Linked DNA regions of Homo sapiens: all the other regions are linked to region 1. The links are contacts of gene promoters, found by promoter capture Hi-C in blood cells and fetal thymus (Javierre and others, 2016). All regions are on one chromosome and are shown on one strand. The core of a region is centred on a gene start or on the middle of the fragment in contact, and the rest is flanking DNA. Distances in the headings are between cores, read along the strand shown. Region 1 holds the start of LDHB (lactate dehydrogenase B). Region 2 has its middle 3.3 kb from the start of C2CD5. Region 3 overlaps C2CD5 (C2 calcium dependent domain containing 5). Region 4 overlaps C2CD5 (C2 calcium dependent domain containing 5). Region 5 overlaps C2CD5 (C2 calcium dependent domain containing 5). Region 6 overlaps C2CD5 (C2 calcium dependent domain containing 5). Region 7 has its middle 77 kb from the start of ST8SIA1.

Evidence for each region. The method cuts DNA at HindIII sites, captures the fragments that hold promoters and counts their contacts. A CHiCAGO score of 5 or more calls a contact.
Region 2: a contact is called between a fragment that was not itself captured here and the fragment with the promoter of LDHB in region 1, in 5 of 17 cell types (fetal thymus, naive CD8 T cells, activated CD4 T cells and 2 more). The highest score is 7.1, in fetal thymus.
Region 3: a fragment that was not itself captured here is called in contact with the fragment with the promoter of LDHB in region 1 in 4 of 17 cell types (naive CD8 T cells, fetal thymus, total CD4 T cells and 1 more); the score reaches 7.0 in naive CD8 T cells.
Region 4: a contact is called between a fragment that was not itself captured here and the fragment with the promoter of LDHB in region 1, in 6 of 17 cell types (non-activated CD4 T cells, activated CD4 T cells, total B cells and 3 more). The highest score is 9.5, in non-activated CD4 T cells.
Region 5: a contact is called between a fragment that was not itself captured here and the fragment with the promoter of LDHB in region 1, in 6 of 17 cell types (total CD4 T cells, naive B cells, total CD8 T cells and 3 more). The highest score is 7.8, in total CD4 T cells.
Region 6: a contact is called between a fragment that was not itself captured here and the fragment with the promoter of LDHB in region 1, in 7 of 17 cell types (total B cells, M1 macrophages, total CD8 T cells and 4 more). The highest score is 6.6, in total B cells.
Region 7: a fragment that was not itself captured here is called in contact with the fragment with the promoter of LDHB in region 1 in 2 of 17 cell types (activated CD4 T cells and non-activated CD4 T cells); the score reaches 7.1 in activated CD4 T cells.

The regions. Positions count from the first base shown.
Region 1 is chr12:21,656,405-21,659,419 of GRCh38, reverse strand. LDHB (lactate dehydrogenase B) reads left to right here and starts at 1,578. Exons shown (of 8, transcript NM_002300.8): 1 at 1,578-1,669. RefSeq lists enhancers at 1,097-1,276, 1,151-1,679, 1,657-1,906, 1,937-2,026. The HindIII fragment of the contact is 8,571 bases long and covers 1-3,015 here.
Region 2 is chr12:22,546,356-22,549,370 of GRCh38, reverse strand. No RefSeq gene overlaps it. Among named protein-coding and RNA genes, the nearest start is that of C2CD5, 3.3 kb to the right of the region's middle. The HindIII fragment of the contact is 951 bases long and covers 1,040-1,990 here.
Region 3 is chr12:22,530,008-22,533,022 of GRCh38, reverse strand. All of the region lies in intron 3 of C2CD5 (C2 calcium dependent domain containing 5), which reads left to right. Among named protein-coding and RNA genes, the nearest start is that of C2CD5, 13 kb to the left of the region's middle. The HindIII fragment of the contact is 925 bases long and covers 1,144-2,068 here.
Region 4 is chr12:22,506,596-22,509,610 of GRCh38, reverse strand. It overlaps C2CD5 (C2 calcium dependent domain containing 5), which reads left to right. Exons shown (of 27, transcript NM_001286176.2): 10 at 2,792-2,900. Among named protein-coding and RNA genes, the nearest start is that of C2CD5, 36 kb to the left of the region's middle. The HindIII fragment of the contact is 1,221 bases long and covers 892-2,112 here.
Region 5 is chr12:22,473,321-22,476,335 of GRCh38, reverse strand. C2CD5 (C2 calcium dependent domain containing 5) reads left to right here. Exons shown (of 27, transcript NM_001286176.2): 16 at 1,445-1,585. Among named protein-coding and RNA genes, the nearest start is that of C2CD5, 70 kb to the left of the region's middle. The HindIII fragment of the contact is 2,771 bases long and covers 197-2,967 here.
Region 6 is chr12:22,457,080-22,460,094 of GRCh38, reverse strand. It overlaps C2CD5 (C2 calcium dependent domain containing 5), which reads left to right. Exons shown (of 27, transcript NM_001286176.2): 23 at 553-603; 24 at 1,510-1,611; 25 at 2,934-3,015. Among named protein-coding and RNA genes, the nearest start is that of C2CD5, 86 kb to the left of the region's middle. The HindIII fragment of the contact is 418 bases long and covers 1,352-1,769 here.
Region 7 is chr12:22,410,072-22,413,086 of GRCh38, reverse strand. No RefSeq gene overlaps it. Among named protein-coding and RNA genes, the nearest start is that of ST8SIA1, 77 kb to the right of the region's middle. The HindIII fragment of the contact is 277 bases long and covers 1,260-1,536 here.

The DNA.
Region 1 (3,015 bases), core at 329-2,828:
AAAAAGAAATCTAGGGTACCTTCTAGATAACTTGCTAGGCTGACTTGGCTATTCTTGCTTCAAACTTGGATTTAGGGTTAATGTAATACTTTTGAGATTATCCTCCAAGCTCTTTTCCTCACCATCACATTTTAATTTGTAATTGGACTGTATCTTCAGTCAAAGTCCCCACTAGCTGAATGATTTATGCTAGGAGAGTTTGAGGCTTATGAATTCTTCTCAACAAACCCTTCTCTTAGTGATTCTTTACTCTGAATTTTTATTGTACTTTAACCAAATTTCTATTGCCACTTATTGTAATTGAAATAGGTTGCCTACTTGTCTGTCTCCAATGGACTAGGAACACCTCAAAGGGCATAATCTTATATTTATGTTTTTTACCAATGCTTGGCACTGAGAATAAACTGAAGCAATAATTATAGAATTAGTGGTCATATACAAGAAATATGCATTTACAAAAAAAAACACTTCACATACAGGAAGTTTGTGAGATGGCTATATTTGAAAGCATTTTAATTATAAGAAAACAGAACTGAAGCCAGACTCTTCAGAATTCCTCCAATTTATCATTCATTCATTTATTCATCAATGCTATATTTAGGTACCAAGCACTGGCTGAGTGTTGAAGACAGAATGAATGACAACATCCAGCTTTGGAGTCGATTAGGGACTAAAAAAGAAAGTGCATCTCACTTAGTGGTCCCACATTTCCCCTAGAGGGCAAAGCCTGACCTTGAGACCAGGTGGAATTGTAGGGGAACTTCAGATGGCAGGGACAAAGCCTCATTGGTCTTGTCAGGCAACGAGTAAGCAATCATTGCGTGTTTGTTGAAACAGGTTGAAAAAAATAGTCATTTTCATCAAATGAACTTTAAAACGGAGATGATCTAAATTCAGATGTATTTTTTTAAGTCCTTTAAAGTTTAACTGAAATGCAACATAGAAATTTATTTCTGGCCGGGCGCGGTGGCTCAGGCCTGTAATCCCAGCACTTTGGGAGGCCGAGGCGGGCGGATCACGAGGTCAGGAGATCGAGACCATCCTGGCTAACACGGTGAAACCCCCCTCTCTACTAAAAATACAAAAAATTAGCCGGGCGAGGTGGCGGGCGCCTGTAGTCCCAGCTACTCGGGAGGCTGAGGCAGGAGAATGTCGTGAGCCCGGGAGGCGGAGCTTGCAGTGAGCCGAGATCGCGCCACTGCACTCCAGCCTGGGCGACAGAGTGAGACTCCGTCTCAAAATAAAAAAAAGAAGGAAAGAAATTTATTTCTATTTGTACTAAATCTAATAGAACAAGAGCGTTAAAGTCCAGAAGAGTCGGGGATGGGCAAGTTTTATAAATAACTTGGCCTCCGCATTGAAGAGCCTGCGAGATGTGAGACCAGCTGAGAGCGGAAGCCTCTGGAAGGAGACCTCCTCATCTGGAGGGTGGGGGAGGGAGTGTGCATACTTGAGCCCTTGTCCTTGAAGGGGATTGAGCGAGCCGAGGGGAGGGGTAGGCGGTACTCGGATTTCCAATCACAATGGAGAAACCTAAGAGGCTGCGGTGGTTGTGGGGCCCCGCCCCCTCCTCCCTCCTTGCAGAGCCGGCGCCGGAGGAGACGCACGCAGCTGACTTTGTCTTCTCCGCACGACTGTTACAGAGGTCTCCAGAGCCTTCTCTCTCCTGGTAGGTTTCGGCTCAGGACCCTGAATCCTGGCCCACAGGCAAGCCTGATGGGACGTGCGGGGTAGTACTTGTATGGGGAGACGCGGGAAGGAGGAAGAAGCACATCTGTCCTCCGCGGCCTTTAGCTCTGAGCATCCGGCCGCGGGCCCTGACTTTGCCGCTCAGTTTGGGGCGCAGGGGGGGCCGTGCCCTGGCGGAGGAGCAGAAGGCAGAGGGTAGCAGCTGCGGCTCAGCGGAGAGACTTGTTGCATTTGCAGCTAAAACCAGGCCCTACTTGTCCTTGGTGGGTTCATGGCGGCCACATCACCCCCACGGCCTGCTGGCGGGAGTCGGGACACGTGCCCGAGTAGCTGGGGGAGGGGGACGGAACCAGGTGGCCTATGAAGGCTGGACGATCTTTACCTCGAATATTTGAATATATTGCCACGGTAATAGAGAAATGCCCTTGCACTCGCTGGGATGAGGAGAAAGGCACCTAGATGACCAGCACGTTTGGCGCTGCACTTATTTTTACCCGGCTCTGACGGTCTTTCCAGGAGCCATGCGCCAGTTCTTTCCTGCAGGGCCTCTTTTCTGGATGCTTAGGGGCTTCGTTTACTTTACCAGCCTTGGGTGCTCCGAGTAAGGAAGTCCTAGACTTGTCCCCACAGACCTTACTCGGGGAGATCTCTAGCTTCTGCATGCCCTCGTGATCTGCTGTTCTTTGCTGCCGGTGCCCTGAGGAAAAGATGGTTTGTGCGCACCGCGAGCAGTACAAGCTGCAGTAAGGGCCTGGGGAATGGGGGGAGGGGAGGAATTCAAAAGCAAAACCTGAATTTTTAAAAGATTACGGTGAGAAAGATTCTGCAAAGAAGATCTTTGTTCCTGAAATTAAGGCGCTCCTTTATTTCTAATGATTTATATCCACAGCAGTGAGGAGACATAAGGGACCAAGACTCAGAGATTTTTACCGTTTGTCGTTCTTGTTCCTTACAGCCTGCACTCTGATGTTGGCACAGGCCTGTATATCATGCAGACCATTTTCTTCTCATTTCTTAAAACTCTTTTTAAGGAAAAATTGAAGAAAAGCACTTTCTCCAGAAATATCTGAAAGAAAATCTGGTTCGAGCCTTTAAATTGTACTTCCTGAAGTTTTCTAAATTAAAAGGTCTATCAGAACAACGAATCTGTATTTATATAGCCACTGTTTCTTCATTTTCATTTTCCACTGCTTCCTGGGCCCCCTGTATACCAAAACGGTCGTAAACAGACCATCTAACAACAATAAACTTAAGTGCAGAACAACTATTCATGTGTGTCGTCCTTCAAAAAGAGATGCAGCATTCTTTCTTCTGAGCCTGTTTAAA
Region 2 (3,015 bases), core at 266-2,765, 890 kb before region 1:
AAGCAATGTGTTCCACTGCAATAATCTTCCAATTTAGAGAATATTTTACTTGATGCAGTCCTTATGCCCATGGTACATTAAGTATGGTATGGTACCTTATGCCCATGGTACATTAAGATACAAGGGAACTAATAAGATGATGAGTTTACCTAGATGCCTACTTATCTCATTTTTACTCCTTAATCAAAGCAAAAGTGAGCCACATGGTGGCTCACACCTGCAATCCTAGCACTTTGGGAGGATGAGGCAGGCAGATCACTTGAGCCCAAGAGTTCGAGATCAGCCTGGGCAACATGGGGAGACCTCATCTCTACTAAAATATAAAAATTAGCCAGATGTGGTGGTGTGCGCCTGCAGTCCCAGCTATTCAGGAGGCTAAGGTTGGAGGATCACCTGAGCCTGGGAGGTTGAGGCTGTGGTGAACTGTGATCTTGCCACCGCACTGTAGCCTGGGTAACAGAGTGGGACCCTGGCCCAAAGGAAAAAAAAAAATCAAAGCAAAAGTAACTGAACTGAGCCCAAGTTGTCATTTGTATAATTATACTTGTAATCCCAGCCCACTTTCAAACTTAAATCAGTGAGTTTCTGGCTTGAGCAATTGACTATGTAGTTGGCATTGCTGTTTAGTAGAAGACTACCAGGTCTTTTGTTGTTGTTGTTGTCATTCTCGTTGTTGTAGTTATGGGAAAGGTAAAGAAAATCAGGTCAGTTTTGGACATCTTGACTTTTGAGGTCACTTTTGGACATCTTGACTTTTGAGGTCACTTTGATACTCCAAATGGAAATAGTAACTTGGCAGTTGCATATATGGGTCAAGATCCCAGAAGCGAGTTACAGACTAAAGATAACGATTTGAGAGTCCCTGACTAAACAGATGGAAATTAAAATTGTGAGCTTGGATGAGATCACCTAGGGAGACAGTACAGTTGGAAGAGAATAGAGACAAAAACTGAACCTGAGAAAAACACATATTTAATAGTTAAGGACAATGAGTAGGCTGAGAAGACAGATGTATAAACCAGAATAGGTAAGAGAAGCTTGGTTTCTGAATACCAAGAGGAAGATTATTTTAAGGACAGCGTGGTCAACAGCATCAAATGCTACTGAGAGTCACGTAAATAAAAAACTGAAGCCAGGCATGGTGGCACGTGCCTGTAGTCTCAGCAACTTGGGAGCCTGAGGCAGAAGGACTGCATGAACCCAAGGGTTTGAGACCAGTCTGGGCAACACAGCAAGACCCCATCTCAAAAATAAAAACTTAAAACTAAAAAAAGTGTTCATTGCATTTAGCAACCAGAGGTTATTGATGGCATTAGTGAAAGCTGTTTTTGTAGAGTGGTGGTGGCTAAACCCAGATATTAATAGTTTTTGGAGCGCTTAGGAAGTGAGGAGAGGGCACCAAGTACTGACAACCCTTGAGTAATTTAACCTGAAAGAATGGGAAAGATTAACAGGAACATTTTAGGAAGCCAGGAAAGAAGAGCAATCTAAGTAGTAATAGCAAGTGTTAACTGTTAATTTAATTCCACAATAATTTGTTGATCACATGAAGGGCACAGGACAAAGAACTGAGAATTGAGAGATGAGTGAGAAGCAATCCATTCCCTCAGAGTGCTCATGGTTTAGTGGGGGTTGGGGGGGAGAGAGATGGATAAATAATTATTGCATGGAAAGTATAATAACAAATGTATTAGATTTAGTAGTAGCATAGGTGGGAGTGAAGAGCATATTTATTAGGAAGGAGATTAGAGAAGATGTAGAAGTGACTTTTGTAAAAGGCAAAAGATTTATACACTCTAAAGAGAAACCAGAGTATTGACTTTTGAACTGAGTTATGAATTCATAGCTATTTGGTAGGATGACTATGAGAGAGATACTCCAGGAAGAAGGAAAAGTATAGTTTATTAGAAAACTACATGTAATCTTCAAAGACGTGAGTTCTTGGAATCACATTGTCTAGATTTAAAACCTGCCTCTATCATTAGAAGCTTTGTGACCTTGGGTAATCACCAGAGCTTTGAAAAGCCATAATTTTCTCATTTATAAAATGAAGGCTGATAATTCCTACCTCAGGATTTTAGGGAGCCTTAACAGCTGTGAAACGCTGAATTCAGTAGCTGGTGTGCGGCAAACCATCAATACACGTTAATTCTTGTTATTGATAATTTAAAATGCAAAAAGAGTGTCAGGGTATGAAGCTAAACAAGGTAATCAGGAGTCACATCATGGTAGATTTGTCAGAAAGTTAGCACTGTTCCCAGCATTAATGAAAACAAACGAGAACAATTATTAGGAAACAGTTCAACTGAAGTCAGGCTTAAATCTACTAAAAATAGTTTTCAGGAAGCATCTTAATTATAATCTCTTGTTGATGAAGCCTAAGGCAACAAGTACGTACAAGTACCTCAAAGTCTACTAATTAGGAGGCTGAGATTGCTAACCTCTAATTGTGCAATTTGCAACTTTTTACATTTTGGAACACAATGCATTATTTTCCATTAATATTGGTGCTAAACTTCAATTTTCTAATATTTTTTCTTTATACATTTCATATTTTAAAAAATGAGTTGGTAATACGGTAATACTTCGATTTCACCACAAAAACGACTTCAACTCTACCACCCAAAACAACAAAAAACACTGATCATGCCGGGCAAGATGGCTCATGCCTGTAATCCCACCACTTTGTGAGGTCAAGGCAGGAGGATGGCTTAAACCAGGATTGAGACCAGCCTGGGCAATACAGGGAGACTCCATCTCTTCAAAAAATTTAAAAAACTAGCGGTGCATGGTGGTATGTGCTTGTAGTCCCAGGAACTTGGGGGGCTGAGGTGGGAGGATCGCTTGGCCCAGAAGATTGAGGCTGTAGTGAGCTATGATCATGTCACTGCACTCCAGTGTGGGACACAGAGTGAGTCCCTGTCTCTAAATAAATAAATAAATAAAAAACGTTGATCACATAGTGTAGCCAACCTTCAGAATTCTGGCAAGGGTATTTTAAGGGCAGAGTCAGAC
Region 3 (3,015 bases), core at 357-2,856, 870 kb before region 1:
TATTGCCCATTTCTCTGATACCACTTCCTTCACCCCTCAGCTGGAACTGAAATTTTCTTCTTTGGAATTTTCATTGGACTACTTAAGAACCTTGTGAGGACCAATTTGGTTTTTCTTCCCCTGCTATTTCATGCTGGCCCTTATATTGGGCAGCATTGTGGCTGCTGTGCCTTTTCTGAGGCCTATTTCATAACCATTATGGAGCCTGGGTAAAGTTTAGCTCTTGCAGGGTAAGGTGTCATTCTTCAGTGAAAGAGAACAAGGGAAGGAAAGTATTGATTTGCTTGAAAGATGCTTTGATCATGCTGGGGAACCTGCCAAACTGATACCTGAAGATGGAAGAAATGACACTACGATTTTTAGGCGCTGCTTTGCTTATGGTTTATATTAGGACCGTGATCTTTCTTTTAGTGTTGGAAGGCACATTCTGTAGTGGTTGGGATACTGCATAGCTGCCCTCTATTGGAAAAGCTTAAAGGTCTGGATTAAGAGAAAACAAATTCTATTTCTGGTGCCTGCTAATTTGCAGATGACCTCAGACAGCCTTACCATTTGGAGCCTCTGTTTTTTTTCAAACATGAATTCTTTCCAGAGTAGTATTGAGGTGGCTATGAAGCATGTTGCTGTATGTTAATATGAGTTGCACTAGTCAAAAAAAAGAGAATAATATATGTAAACTTTTTTTTTTTTTTGAGACGGAGTTTCACTCCCGTTGCCCAGGCTGGAGGGCAATGGTGGGATCTTGGCTCACTGCAACCTCTGCCTCTCAGGTTCAAGCGATTCTCCTGCCTCAGCCTCTTGAGTAGCTGGGAGTACAGTCATGCGCCACCACACCTGGCTAATTTTGTATTTTTAGTAGAGACAGGGTTTCTCCATGTTGGTCAAGCTGTTCTCAAACTCGCGACCTCAGGTGATCCACCCACCTTGGCCTCCCAAAGTGCTGGGATTACAGGCGTAATGCCCGGCCTGGGAATAATATTTTTAAATCACTCAGCATTTTGGATAGACATTCAGCGTTTGGCAGAAAGTGGGTTTAAATATTAGCATTTTGGGGTATATCTTCTGTTCTTTCGTTAATGTATAGTTTAATTAGTCTGAGTGGTGTAGGTGTGCTAAAAAAATAGAACTGCAGTTTGAAAAGCTTTTGTTGCTAAAATTAAATCTCAGTTTGTATAAGAAAGGTGTACCTCGTCTGTAGACTCAGCATTTATGGACAGTGACAGCTTTTATTTATTATCTCTGTGGAATATAACTGTGTTTCTCAAAATTACGACCTCATCAGAGTAGCTTGGCTGTGTCTCAGTCTTCTGTCAAAAGGACTCAGTTATAGAAACAGTTATTCTTAACCTCCCAGTAGCTTTTACCCAAAGGTTTTCAAGCAAATGGATCTCTCTAAGGAAGGTAATTTCTAGTTTCTGTAAACTCCTCCTCTTTTAAAATGGACTTCCATGTTATCTGCTAGAACATTGAACTGGAAGTCAGTAAATTGTTTAGGACTTTACCTTTGAGGCAAGTTAAAAAAAATCAGTTGGACATAGATGTAAGGATTTATTTCCGCACTCTCAACTCCATTCCATTGGTCTGTATGTCTGTCTTTATACTATTACCATACTGTTTTGATTACTATAGCTTTGTAGTGAGTTTTGCAATCAGGAAGTGAGAGTCCTACAAATTCATATTTTTAGTTGATATTTTCATGGTGAAATATTTTGATTCTCTTCTCATTTTCTTTTGTGTATATGTACAAATTTTTCTTTTAGCTGCTTCTAAAATGCCACTATCTATTTTGAAAGACCCGTTGCACATGTATTGAGTCTATTGTGGCATTTTAAACTACATTATTAAGGTAAAGGTGTGGAATATATGTGTCAAAAAATAATCAGAGTAACTTCCTTACATGATTTCAGATGGATTTAGAATTAGAGTCTATCTTCATTACCCAGGCAAAACACTGGGATGTTTATATAGTTTATTTTGATAGCCTTTCCCCCCCAACTATAACCTAGAAATGGTTAAAAACGAATAGTTTTCATTACATTGTTATTGGAATGGTGGGAGGAGGCAAGCTTCATGTGTCAGAGTAATTTTCATGATACTAGGAAATATTAAAAAATGATATTTCATTTTAATGATGATGGTAATAAACTGGTATTTTTTAAAGCTAGTGAGTACTCAAGCAGCTTACTTAACAATATGAAAAATAATATATTTATTTTCTGAAATAAGGGATTTACCAGGCAGTTCCCTTAAAATTTCTTAAGTTAGTGGCTGGGTGCAGTGGCTCACAGCTATAATCTTGGGACTTTGGGAAGCCGAGGCAGGCGAATCACCTGAGATCCAGGGTTCAAGACCAGCCTGGGCAACAGAGTGAAACCCCGTCTCTACTAAAATACAAAAATTAGCCGGGTGTGGTGGTGTGAACCTGTAATCCCAGCTATGTGGGAGGCCGAGGCCCAAGAATCGCTTGAACCTGGGAGGCAGAGGTTGCAGTGAGTCGAGATCACGCCATTGCACTCCAGCCTGGGTGACAGAGTGAGACTCCGTCTTAAAAAAAAAAAAAAATTTAGTAAGTTACTGTTTTGACTAGTCTTCCCGAATAATATATATGCTGTGAAAAATGTACTTAAAACTTTGTGTTTATAGTTAACATTGATTATGTAGTACTTTTTTTAACCCTGTTTATCAGTTGTTAATTGCATTCAGTTATATATATATATTCAGTTTTAAATATATATACACACACAGTTGTGTATATATATATACACAGTTGTATGTATACATATACACATAGTTGTATATATACAGTTATATATATACTGTATATATATACACAGTTGTATATATAGTTGTTATGTATACAGTTGTGTATAATATATATACACTGTGTGTGTGTGTGTGTGTGTGTGTGTGTATATATATATATATATATATATATATATATATATAGCACTCAAATACATGTCTTAAGCAAAATAGATGTTTTTCTCTTATGTGAAAGAAATGTCGTGCCAGGCA
Region 4 (3,015 bases), core at 253-2,752, 850 kb before region 1:
CATGAGAGAATTGTATGAAGACGGAGTTTTGGTTAAATAACAATGACATTTTTATTTATTATAGGTTAAATTTTGTGTTTTAGAGTGAATTGGTGTGCCGATTAGGTGAACTGGGGACATGTGAGGTGGAGAGTGGGTCGTGGCCTCAATGGGCAGCCATCGCCCTGTGTGTTTCTTTCTGACCAGCTCTAGTACAATGCTTGCCCTCGTTTCTTTATCCCAAACAAAGAACTTTGGGGAGAAGGGTAAAGAACCCTGAATTGAGAAGTCATTTAGGTTCATTTATTCATACTTATGTAAAATCTTATATGAAAATATTTTCTAATACATAATTTACCTATTTCTTTAGAAGGAAAAAGGAAGTACTATCTTCCATTTAGCTTACAAAAATGTTATTTTCAGTATCTCTTGTCTAGATATTTAAAAGATTTAAGGCTGGGCGCGGTGGCTCACGCCTGTAATCCCAGCACTTTGGGAGGCCGAGGCGGGTGGATCATGAGGTCAGGAGATCGAGACCATCCTGGCTAACAAGGTGAAACCCCGTCTCTACTAAAAAAATACAAAAAATTAGCCGGGCGCGGTGGCGGGCGCCTGTAGTCCCAGCTACTCGGGAGGCTGAGGCAGGAGAATGGCGTGAACCCGGGAAGCGGAGCTTGCAGTGAGCCGAGATTGCGCCACTGCAGTCCGCAGTCTGGCCTGGGCGACAGAGCGAGACTCCGTCTCAAAAAAAAAAAAAAAAGATTTAAGTATAAAGATTACATATAAAGTGATTTTTTATTCTGTGAGACCACCACATGCCTCAGATATTTTGAGGAAATATTAAAATTTAAGTGATCCTAACACTGAAAAAAAAATCTGAAAGACCTAACTACATTATTAATAATATAAGCTTACCTATACGTTTCTCATTTAAAACTCACATTTACAAAGTTCAAATGTACTTGCTCAGTGATTACCGAACTGTTTTCCCAACTTCTTTCTTAATACTTATATTGTGTAATTACCCCGTGTGTGCTGTGCCTAACAATAAATCCATTCGAATATTTTTATGACTCAAAACTTCATTTACATTCAAATTTCCTAATAATAAATATGAATTCATTATGAGGTAATCCTCTAGTTTGTACAATTTTTATTAGATTTCCAGGAACAAAACTTAGAGGACAGAAAAAGAAGTTTAAATGGAAATAAGGATGCATTTTGACTAAACATATTATAATACATTTATTATAAGTGACGTACTCTCCTTCCATCCTCTTCCTTATTTTCCCTCTACCTTTCTGCTGGGCTATACCTAACCACTTCCATAGACCAGTTTTTTACTCTTTTCTTACATAGCATAGATTTTTCTTTCTCTTGTTTAAAGATTACTTCTAAATTTGAACTGAATTTATTTCTAAATAAATTTTAGAAACTTTTTTATACTCAACCTTCATGGGTTACTGAGGTGCACAGGACTGATAGCTTTTGTGCAAAATGATTCCAAGTTGCCGTGCTTTGTGATCATGCTTTTGTGAGTTTGTATTCTCCATGCTTGAAGCAGCCAGTGAATAATTCTTGCTGCTTTTAATAAGCCTGCTTCTGGTGGTATTCTGTATCTCTTTACCAGCTTTTATTTGTTGCATTTAATCTGAGGTGGTCTTGAAAATGAGATCATGATAAATTTTAGAGTTGTTTCTTTTTAAGATAAAAATTTATAACTACTATAATATAGTATGAATATGATCTGTGGGAGTCTCCTATGAATAAAGTATATGAGCTTTAGAGCTTGAGACCGTAACAGTTCTTTTGACCGTTGAGAGCCCTGTTTTGCTTATTTTTCTCAATTATGCTCAATTATGTTCTAAATAGCTGAGGCTACTGGTAAGTGATTCCAGTTAAGTGAGCTACATTAATCTTGCAGCCAGACAGGTCAAACATCAAGTTTTCCTTACTTGCATCCAATTTGTGTAATGTGAGGGGCCTCCATGTTTTCACAGGAGCTCCGTTTTCTTATTGGGTCCTATTTCAATGAATTTCCTTTCTTGGCTTTTTCATTTGTCTTTTTTGTGTTTCTCTTTGTCTCTAAGTTGATGAATTTTATTCTTTAAGAGAGAAGGATAGAATAAAGCTTGCAAGAACTTGTGGAATTTTATTGCCTTCCTAGCTGTTATCTATGTACCTTTCAACTTTCCTTAATGTACCTTTATGCACTTGTATTTGTTCCTGCCACATTGGTGTTGATAGAGTAACCTCACACAATGATTCTCTACCCATCTCAACTTGATATTTGCCACTATCCTCTTTCTCTTAACCCACACTGCTTATCCTCTCACTTATCCTCCTTTGGTCCCACTTTCATTTAGATCCCTTGGCCCCAGGTTTTTAGAGTCTTTACCAGTGTCTTATACTGGGTGTTCATGTGAAGGGGGTGTCTAAACCACTGATAGATAAAGGGGAAGAGGGATAGGGCAGTTCCCTCATCTCATTGAGAAGTTCCATCAGAGTTGGAGATTCAGAGGAAGGAAGAGTGTGTTTCAAATATCTTAAATTGAAGGAACACTTTTTTTTTCTTCATTGAGAACTGATGAAATGGGTCTTTGGATTCTGTATAACATTGTATATATGGGGAAATGGATTTGAAACTCTAAACATTTAATTAAACTTTTAATTACAAAGCATGTGTGATGTGTAATGGGTGGCCTTTTATTTCAAGGGATGTAATACAGTTGCTATGGCAAGCTTTTTAATAAGCAAATTTTTTACACTCTACACACGATAAGTTGTATTTTTCCCTTATTCTTTCCACTAGGAATTTCCATTTTTTACCTTGACGGCATTTCCTCCTGGATTCCTTGTACACGTTGGGGGTGTAGTTAGTGCACGTTCTGTGAAGCTTTTGGATCGTATCCACAATCCTGGTATGTTCTTAAAAAGTTTCAATGTTTCCTTTATTTAAATTGTGGTTATTAAAATTGATTTTTATGATTTTTTTAAAGCCAAATCTAACTGAAAAGAGAAATGAAAAGAAAGTAT
Region 5 (3,015 bases), core at 333-2,832, 820 kb before region 1:
CAGAGTCAGTGTACAAGGTTGATTACCAGGCCACTATACACATTACAGTGTTGTGTTATGTCCACCCTGAATATGTAGATCAGAGTGTTCCTTCTCTTAGGATGATAGCCCTCACTGAAATAAATGCTGCTGTTTAAATTTTTTGTCAATACATTAAAAAATGTTTCTAATACAAAGGTGTAGTACCACTTAAGCTTTATGGAGATAATCAAAGGTATCAAAATAAGATGCACATCTCTCAGAATAACAGTACTAGTGATGAAATTTCAGTATGAATCTAGAACATATTAAATACCAGACAGTTATATTTGTTAAGTCTGTGGCATTGTGAACAAAGGCATAACAGAATTTAAAACTATTGTAAAATTATAAAAAGTAGTGTGGTATCTAGTGGGAATAACGTTGCACTGTGTGTCAAAAGACTGACCTAGACTGGCTCTACACTTGCTAGTTTTCCAAATTTAGGCAGACTACTAATTTACTTCTGAATTACAGCTCTTTTCCATTTTGTAGTTATTATAATGTTAACTTTATAGAGGGCAGATTAATTTGGAGTACAAATAAGATAAATTGATGTGAAAGTGCTCCATAGATCATTACATTATGAAATTGTGCAGTGGTAGTCTTTTATCTAAGGTGCATACTACCAATGAACATTTAAAACTATATATTTTTGAAAAATTTTATGTACAATTTCCTTGTTTATTAAAAAGACAATTCTGTTGCATCAGCAATAGGCTATGGCTTTTGCTTTTGCGTTCACGTATTCATATTCTTCCAGCATTCCTTGTGGCCGACAGACACTTAGAACCCCTAGTGATCTTTGGCTATGTAACAGCAAAAAGCTCACTAAGCCATACAGTATTGCACCATACACTGACCTTAAAAAGATCATTATTGTAAGTACCAATGTTTATTTAGCTTAATAAATTGAATAGCAAATATGTGCATAGTATAAGTATATATGTATTCATACTCATACATTGATCATATTTCACATTTTGCTATATGGAGCTTTGAAAGTGGATAAGAAAATATATAAAAGATTAGAATTCTTTCTAGGAACATAAGTCTTTAAATTTTTAAGGCCTATTAGGACTTTTATAATGCTGAATAGAAAATATGCACACACAGCAGTACTGGATTTCAGAGCTGTAAGGACTGCCAATTCCATACACATTGTAGTGTCCTGTGTGTACACTAGATGTCAGTTTTATCTTGTTATGTCTGTGACAGTTATATATATTTTTCTGATTCGTGTATCATTAAGGCTGCCATATCTGCTATAAAAGTTTAGTTTTAAAGGTTATACTTAAGTACGGACTTCACTGAGTATATTTTACAGGCTTTTTCTCCACAGGTAGGTGTCTACTAATATAAAGATGTAAAATTTAAACTGGAAAAGACAATCTCATATGATATAAAACAATTATATTTCTTTTAGGAGATATCTGAAGAGATTATAGGATCACCCATCCCAGAACCTAGGCAACGCTCAAGACTTCTAAGATCTCAATCAGAAAGCTCGGATGAAGTTACAGAATTAGACCTTTCACATGGGAAAAAAGATGCTTTTGTTTTGGAGGTAATGTGGCATTGGACTAATTTCTTAAAGGTTTTGGAAGCTAAGATACACATTTTTTCACGTGCTAAATTAATATGATACTTTTATATCATTACAACTGTTATAAATATTTAAAAAGTTATTATATAAAAATACAACAAACTTGAAAATAACAGAACTTGGTAACATATGTTTGTTCAATACCAGGTCACTGATACAATAATGCAGATGGTTCTGAAAAAGTTAATGTATGGGTTGAAATAATGATAGAATAGTATTAAACCTTTGAAGTTATTTTTGTAAACTTGAATGAATTTAAATGAAGTGCCATTCTTTAACTTACTATAATTATTACCTTTTTTGTATATTACTGTAGTTATAACATTTTTTAGTATAATCACTGTGAATTCTGAGTGTAGTATTTTCTTACTGAATTCAAAAGGTATAATTGATCCATCTTTATAAAAAGATACTAAGAACACTTTAGTAACTTTCCCAGAGAGTAAATGTCACATGAAAAGTTTATGGAGACTCCTTCCTCACAGATCTGCTTCCTCTGCACTCCCCTGTAGAATGGTTAGCTCCCAAAGAGATAGATTTTTCTTTTTCATATTGAAGGAAAGGAAAATAAATGATTAAGATGTAAGTTGAGAGAGAGAAAAATCAGATGCTTTGATCTTGGTGTAGCAGGAAGCTGGTGGTAGAATTGTGTTGGGATGGGATTGGAGGTTTAAAGAGTCAGGAACGGTGCCAGTGGCTGTAACAAGGATCTATGAGAGACGCACAGGCCTAACCAAGGTGAGAGTGTCAGTTTGTAGAAAACTCAACTTATATGGTTATTTGCCCCCCACTTTTTCCCCACATTTCTCTACAGTCTGAGAATGGAAAATATGTCATGGAAAATATCTCAGGTCAAGGAGGTTAAAAGTTCCAGGGTACTATTTACAGCAATGCTACTCAAAGTGTGATGTGCCTACTTGTGGCGTCAGCTCTACCTGGGAGCTTGTAAGAAATGCAAATTCTTGGGCCCCTACCTCAGACCTAGTAGATGAGAATTTCAAGGTGGAGCCCAGGAATCTGTTTAACAAACTTTCCAGGTGATGCCAAACATTACCTGAAGTTTGATCTAGGGCATTATTGATAAGTCTGATCTTGGGATCCTGGCTAAGTAGAGAGGCACATGAGAACAAAGTGCTTCAAACATGGGCAGAGGACAGAGGGCAAGTGGAATATCCAGTAAGAGAGGACAAAGAGACAGGACTGTAGTTGGAGAATGCTCGAGATCCTGGGTGTGGAACGTTTTGGGGAATAATGGGTTGAGGTATGGCTGTGACTGTGGGTAGCCACGTGAAGTGGAAGTGAAAGTGGTTCTTGAAGTCCTGAGGGTGATGTGGGAAGAAGCTTAGCGAGTCTGCAGGTTAGGACTTAGAAACTGAGGTGCAGATGAATGT
Region 6 (3,015 bases), core at 311-2,810, 800 kb before region 1:
GTTTCACAAAGTCTTGATACCACCAGAGGGAGCTGTTGATATCGAAGTCTTCGAATGAAGAAGTTGGTGGTGAGAGTTAAGACTAGGGAGCAGCTTATGCTGATCTGTGAAGCATAATCATTATCTTGTCTGTAATTTGTAATCTTATAGACTCTTCCCCACAGCAAACATTTTCCTTCCATGTTTCATTTCAGATATTCTTCCCAACACATTGACCCTTTTCTCTGCCTAGTCTCACATCCTGCTTTCATCATACTCACATTCGTTACTATGTTTATATTTTCTTGTGACTATAAAGTTTCTGAAACTCTTTTTGTGTTACAGTAAGCAAGTAGTCTCCTTTGGCATGGTATTTATGAACTGAGCTAGTTTTCATTTATCAATAGAAACTGCATTTTAAACCTAGATGCTTTTATTTGGTTTGCTTTTGCAATGAAGCCATAAAGATTTCCTCCTATTCTTCTGGCTTATAGAGGTATTAACAAATAACAAAGAAGAGGTACTGGCTTGTACTTAGCATCTGAGCTAATGTTGTTCATATTGTCTTATTAGAACACCTGGAGAGTGCAAGTTCTAACTCAGGTATACCAGCTGCACAGAGAGGTGAGTTTGTCTAATTAAGCAAATAGTCACCAAAGGTGTAAAATTCTAGTTTGGTGGTGCATAAAATTATAGACATTGAAGAAAATGCACTGGACAATATGGAATAGACACCAAAATCTGGCTTTTTTTTTTTTGTAGGTAGAATATGTTCTTTTAAAAGCATCAATTAAACTAATATTTAAATTTTTTAGTATGTTAATGGTTTCCCAGTTTCTAAGCATAAAATTTTAGCTCCTTAAAATTTTTTTTCCAGCTTAGCAGTAGTAAAAGTTATTGTTTTTAAAAGGGGGAACTTGTGAGGCTCACACCTGCCCTGACCCCATATTATCAGAGGCTTTGTTGCCCAAAATCAGACATGGAAACAAAACATTAACAAAAATGGCCCTTTGGTTTTCCTCTTACTGATTGTAGAAAGAAGATACTTTAATAACAGATAAGTCAACTACTAACTTTTAAAAATATATTCTTCAACATTTGATTCTCTTTTTTTAAAATTTTAGGGTAAAACTAGGGAAATGAATTATTCACAAAGCTTTGATTATAAAATAAAATAGAAACAACTGAAATATTGTAAATTAAGAAGAATAGGAAATAAAGTTAGTTAAAGCACAGTATGTGGTCCTTTCATTGATATTTATGTTAGACCCCACTCAGGCTCTCCCTAGGAGACCACACAACTATGACATCACCAGAAATGCTCAGCCTGCTAACTGAGAACTTGGTTTTGGACAAATCAGTGTCTAAAGCTTGACTCTTTACTATCTCTCTTATCTGACTTGAAAAGGACCATTCTTTTTCTGAGTTACAGTTAAATTACATCATCGAAAGGAGTGTTAAGACGAGTAAGAGACATCATCCATATTTTTTTCTTTGTTTTTTTCTTTTGTTTTCTGTCTGTGTTTTCAGCAACGTCAGTTGATTACAGTTCCTTTGCAGACAGATGCAGCAGCTGGATAGAGCTCATTAAACTGAAAGCTCAGACCATAAGGCGTGGATCAATTAAGACAAGTAGGCGGATGTTTCTACCACATTATGATAATCTGAGAAACATATCCCTGATTTCCCAGTGGTGAAAGCTAGACCTTACTACCCAGTAATAACATTGCCAATCCATCATGTATTAGAGTGTGAAAGCTGCAGACTGTAACGGTCATTTAGGAAAAGCTTTTGAAAGGCCTTTAGATTTATTAGTTTTACCTATAGAATTGTGTTTTTAAAATTTTCCTTTTTGTGCAGGTATTCTTAAAAGTATATAAATAGATATTATATCATTCTAATTGGAAGTAAATTGCCAACTCTCTTATTGAAAAGACATTCTTCCAGGACCCAAGGTACTATTTAGTATGTGGCATCTGTCGGTTTATTAAGTGTGATATGCAGAGGGCTAAACTAATAAAGAATTTATGGTGAGAAAGTAGTTATTACCTTACTGCTAGAATCAGAATCATTACTTATATGTTATCTTATGCCATGTGTTTTGGTAAATTTTGAGGTAAATATATTTGAGTGAAAGAGCTTACCGTACATTAAAAGGGGGAAAAAACTACATTTCACAGGAAATAATATAGGATGTGAAACCAGCCAGATCTGGTTCTGAATCCTAGAAGTGCCATTTTAATAGCTATGAGACCTTGGGCAAGTTACTTAACTTCTCTAACCTTCCATTTCCTCATGCATGAAATGGGGATGATGATGATAACCTGTGTTTTTGGGTGGTTGTAAGGATTAGATATATATATATATGTCTGGCTTATGGCAGTTATTTAATAAGTGGTAGCTATTATTTTTTTACTTTATAAACAACCAACTTTTAGCTAGCAGAGGTCGTTAAGCTTTTAAAATTATGAGTTGGTTTTCAAAAAGGTTTGGAAAAAACCAGTATCTTACAACTAGATAACATAAGGTTTATCTACAAGTTGACAATGATGAAGTCGTCTGAAAAAGATGGAAAAATTGCACTGGGAAATAGAACAACTTTCACACTCTCCTTGTAATAATTTGTTCCTACAGCAGATAATTTTAATGCTCAGCCGCTTTTTCTTTTTCTTCACTTTATAACCAATCATTGTGTGTGTAGCTATACTGCATCAACATTTTCTTTTGCAGGAATGCCATTTTTCTTCCAAAAGAATTCCATTCCAGCATTTCCTCTCATGTTTTTCTGTCTCTCTTTTTTAATTGCATGCAGTGCATGATAATTTCTTTTCTTTCATGACATGGCTTAGCCTCACAGACAGCTGAATGTTGTCACCACTTATTTGGAAACCTCAGGGAATAATTGTGTTACCAGCGTCTGTTCTGAATGTTTTCTCATTTTTCTCCAATTTTAGCCATGACAGTTGAAAAAGCAAGTCCAGTGGGTGATGGAAATTTCCGGAATCGTTCTGCTCCACCTTGTGCAAATTCCACAGT
Region 7 (3,015 bases), core at 149-2,648, 750 kb before region 1:
CAGTTTGCTATACGTCTACCTGTACTGTGTTTCAGGAGGCTCTATCTTGGATACAGTGACCTTCTGCACATCAGTGAAAGGACTGAAACTAGAAGAAGCAAAATTGGGATCCATGTCTACTTTGCTTCCCATATGTTATTCTGTTACCTCAAGTATCTGACTCCATTGTAGTTAATTGCTTCCTGTTTCTTTCCCTAGGTTATGAGATCCTCCACAGAGAACTGAGTAAGAACAATGATGTACATTATTAACTAAAATTATCACATCTTGCTTTATTATTTATTTGTTTTTTTAACCATCCTAGAATAGATAATGTATTGTAGTTTGTTGCCTCGGGAAAGATTTGATTTTGGTTACGTGACACAGAGAGAAGCCGGCTTAAACTTCCCTTGGATTCTTTCTATACTTGGCTTGGTTCTAAAGAGCCACACAGCTGTGGGAATCTTGCAAGCATAATTTCAATTCTACTTTCAGGTCAGAATCAAAGAAGGATTAGAAAGGAGTCCATTTCAAACTTTATAGACCACTTCAGGAATACTTATTCTATCCTACCAGTTCTGAATGTATTAAATTTATTAAAAACTGCTAAGTTCCCTGCCTAATTTTTTGTTAATATTATAATCAAATGTGCTTAGTTATTGGTGTCTCTGCAACCACTGAAAATGCCATGCACTTATGAACAGAATATATTTTCTCATTTGAAATGGCAAAGCCCCAGAGGTTCTAATAGCCACCCTCTTCCAGATACATTATTCATTGTAAACTAGCTTTCTAGAATCCTAGATTATGGAGAACTAAGTATCTTTTATATTTTAAACCACGTGTATGCTAATGTATATAATGAGCGTTTCAAACAATCTTTTTGCTCCTGGTCAACTTTTTTTTTTTTTTTTTTTTTTTTTAAATAATAAAGGCGGCCGGGCGTGGAGGCTCACGCCTGTAATCCCAGCACTTTGGCAGGCCAAGGCGGGTGGGTCAGCTGAGGTCAGGAGTTTGAGACCAGCCTGGCCAATATGGCGAAACCCTGTCTCTACTAAAAATACAAAAATTAGCTGGGTGTGGTGGCACATGCCTGTAATCCCAGCTATTCAGGAGGCGGAGGCACGAGAATCGCTTGAACAAGGAGGTGGAGGTTGCAGTGAGCCGAGATTGCCTCACTGCACTCCAGCCAGGGTGACAGAGCGAGACTCTATCTCAAAATAGTAATAATAATAATAATAATAATAATAATATAGGCACTGAACATTTTCGAAAAAGCTTAAGAAATAAGAAAAACAAGTTAGGGAAGTTTAACTGACAAAGCATTTAACACAATTCATTATAAGATGAATGACAAACAAGTAAAATGGAACATGAATAAGAGATTTATTTAGTGCATCAACTGTTAAAATGCAAGTCTTTATGGCTTATGCTTCTGTATAGACGCTAGGCCCGAAATGGAGGTCTATTTCCCACTTAAGAGCATGAAAAACACCACTTATCAACTGCAGGGAACAGTTTTGAGATTAGATGCTAGGCATCGCACAAATGGAAGCTTTTCAAAACACAACATACAGAATTACATGTTGGGAGGGGGTTCAGGAGGTCACCCAGATCAGTCGTCTCTCTATTAAATTTGTCCCTTGTTAAAATTTTTAGGGAAGGATATTCCAAAACCGGTCTGAGGTTTAAGTGTCCAAAGACCATGAGAAATCTTAAAATTTTATCACACATTGACTATAGAGAAAAGTTTTTAAAAAGTCCACAACAAAGCAGATACAATTGTATAGAAACATCTAGATAATAGAGCTCCCCAGATCAAGCCCCCTCTATTAACCCCACCACCCCGTGTTTTCTCATTACATTTAGACTGAAATTAAAATCCTGCAAGATCCTATAGGAATTAGCCCCTGACTCCTTCTCTGACCTCAGCATCTTCCACTCTCTCCCAGTGTCCCGGTTTCCTCTGTTTCAAACACTGTACGGTAGCAATAATGTGTCTCTTGTTCATCACTGCACATCTACAAAATATCTTCACAGCAACACCTAGATTGGTATTTGGTTGGATATCCCTCATGTTTTAACTGTTTAATAAATATTTCTACAAATCTACAAAAGAGTAAAAAGTTATATATATATTTGTATGGATATATATGTGTATAATTATTTTAATAGTGGTGTTTTATCTGCTTCAAAGTTCGTTTATATGTTTTTTCCCTTTCAGCTCTATCTTGTTACCTAGTTTCTTGAAACTCCCATATGCTTGCTATTAGATTACTAGGACACTAGCAACGGATAGAAGTCATTGACAAAATAGATGAATCACTCAGTGTGGCTTGGTACTGGCATTGAAAAAATAGATTGGCACAGCAATAGATGGGAAGAATGTGTTTATTGCTGTAGGAAAATACCTGGAAATACCAGTTTCTCCAGTCAGAGAAGTCAGACTCCAAGTGAGTATTTCACCACAGTCTTTCTAGAAGCAAGGTAATACAAGTATACAGATGCAAAATGGAATGACTCAGCTAGCCAAGATTCAATTAGCGTTAAAGCATAGAAGCCGCATTTAGGGGAAACTGTGAATGATAGACAACAGCTCCAAATCAGAGCAAAATGATATGTCCTTAGACCGAAAAGTTTCTTGTCTTTTTTTTTTTTTTTTTTTTTTTGATCCAGAGTGTCGCTCTGTCGCCCAGGCTGGAGTGCAGTGGCGCGATCTCGGCTCACTGCAAGCTCGGCCTCCCAGATTCACGACATTCTCCTGCCTCAGCCTCCCGAGTAGATGGGACTACAGGCACCCGCCACCACGCCTCGCTAATTTTTTGTATTTTTAGTAGAGACGGGGTTTCACCGTGTTAGCCAGGGTGGTCTCGGATCTCCTGACCTCGTGATCTGCCCGCCTCGGCCTCCCAAAGTGCTGTGATTACAGGCGTGAGCCACCGCGCCCAGCCAGTTTCTTGTCTTTCTAAGCCTCATTTGAGCCAGGGTAGTGATAGCACTTTCCATCATGGCACCACCTTAGGAGAGCAGAAACTC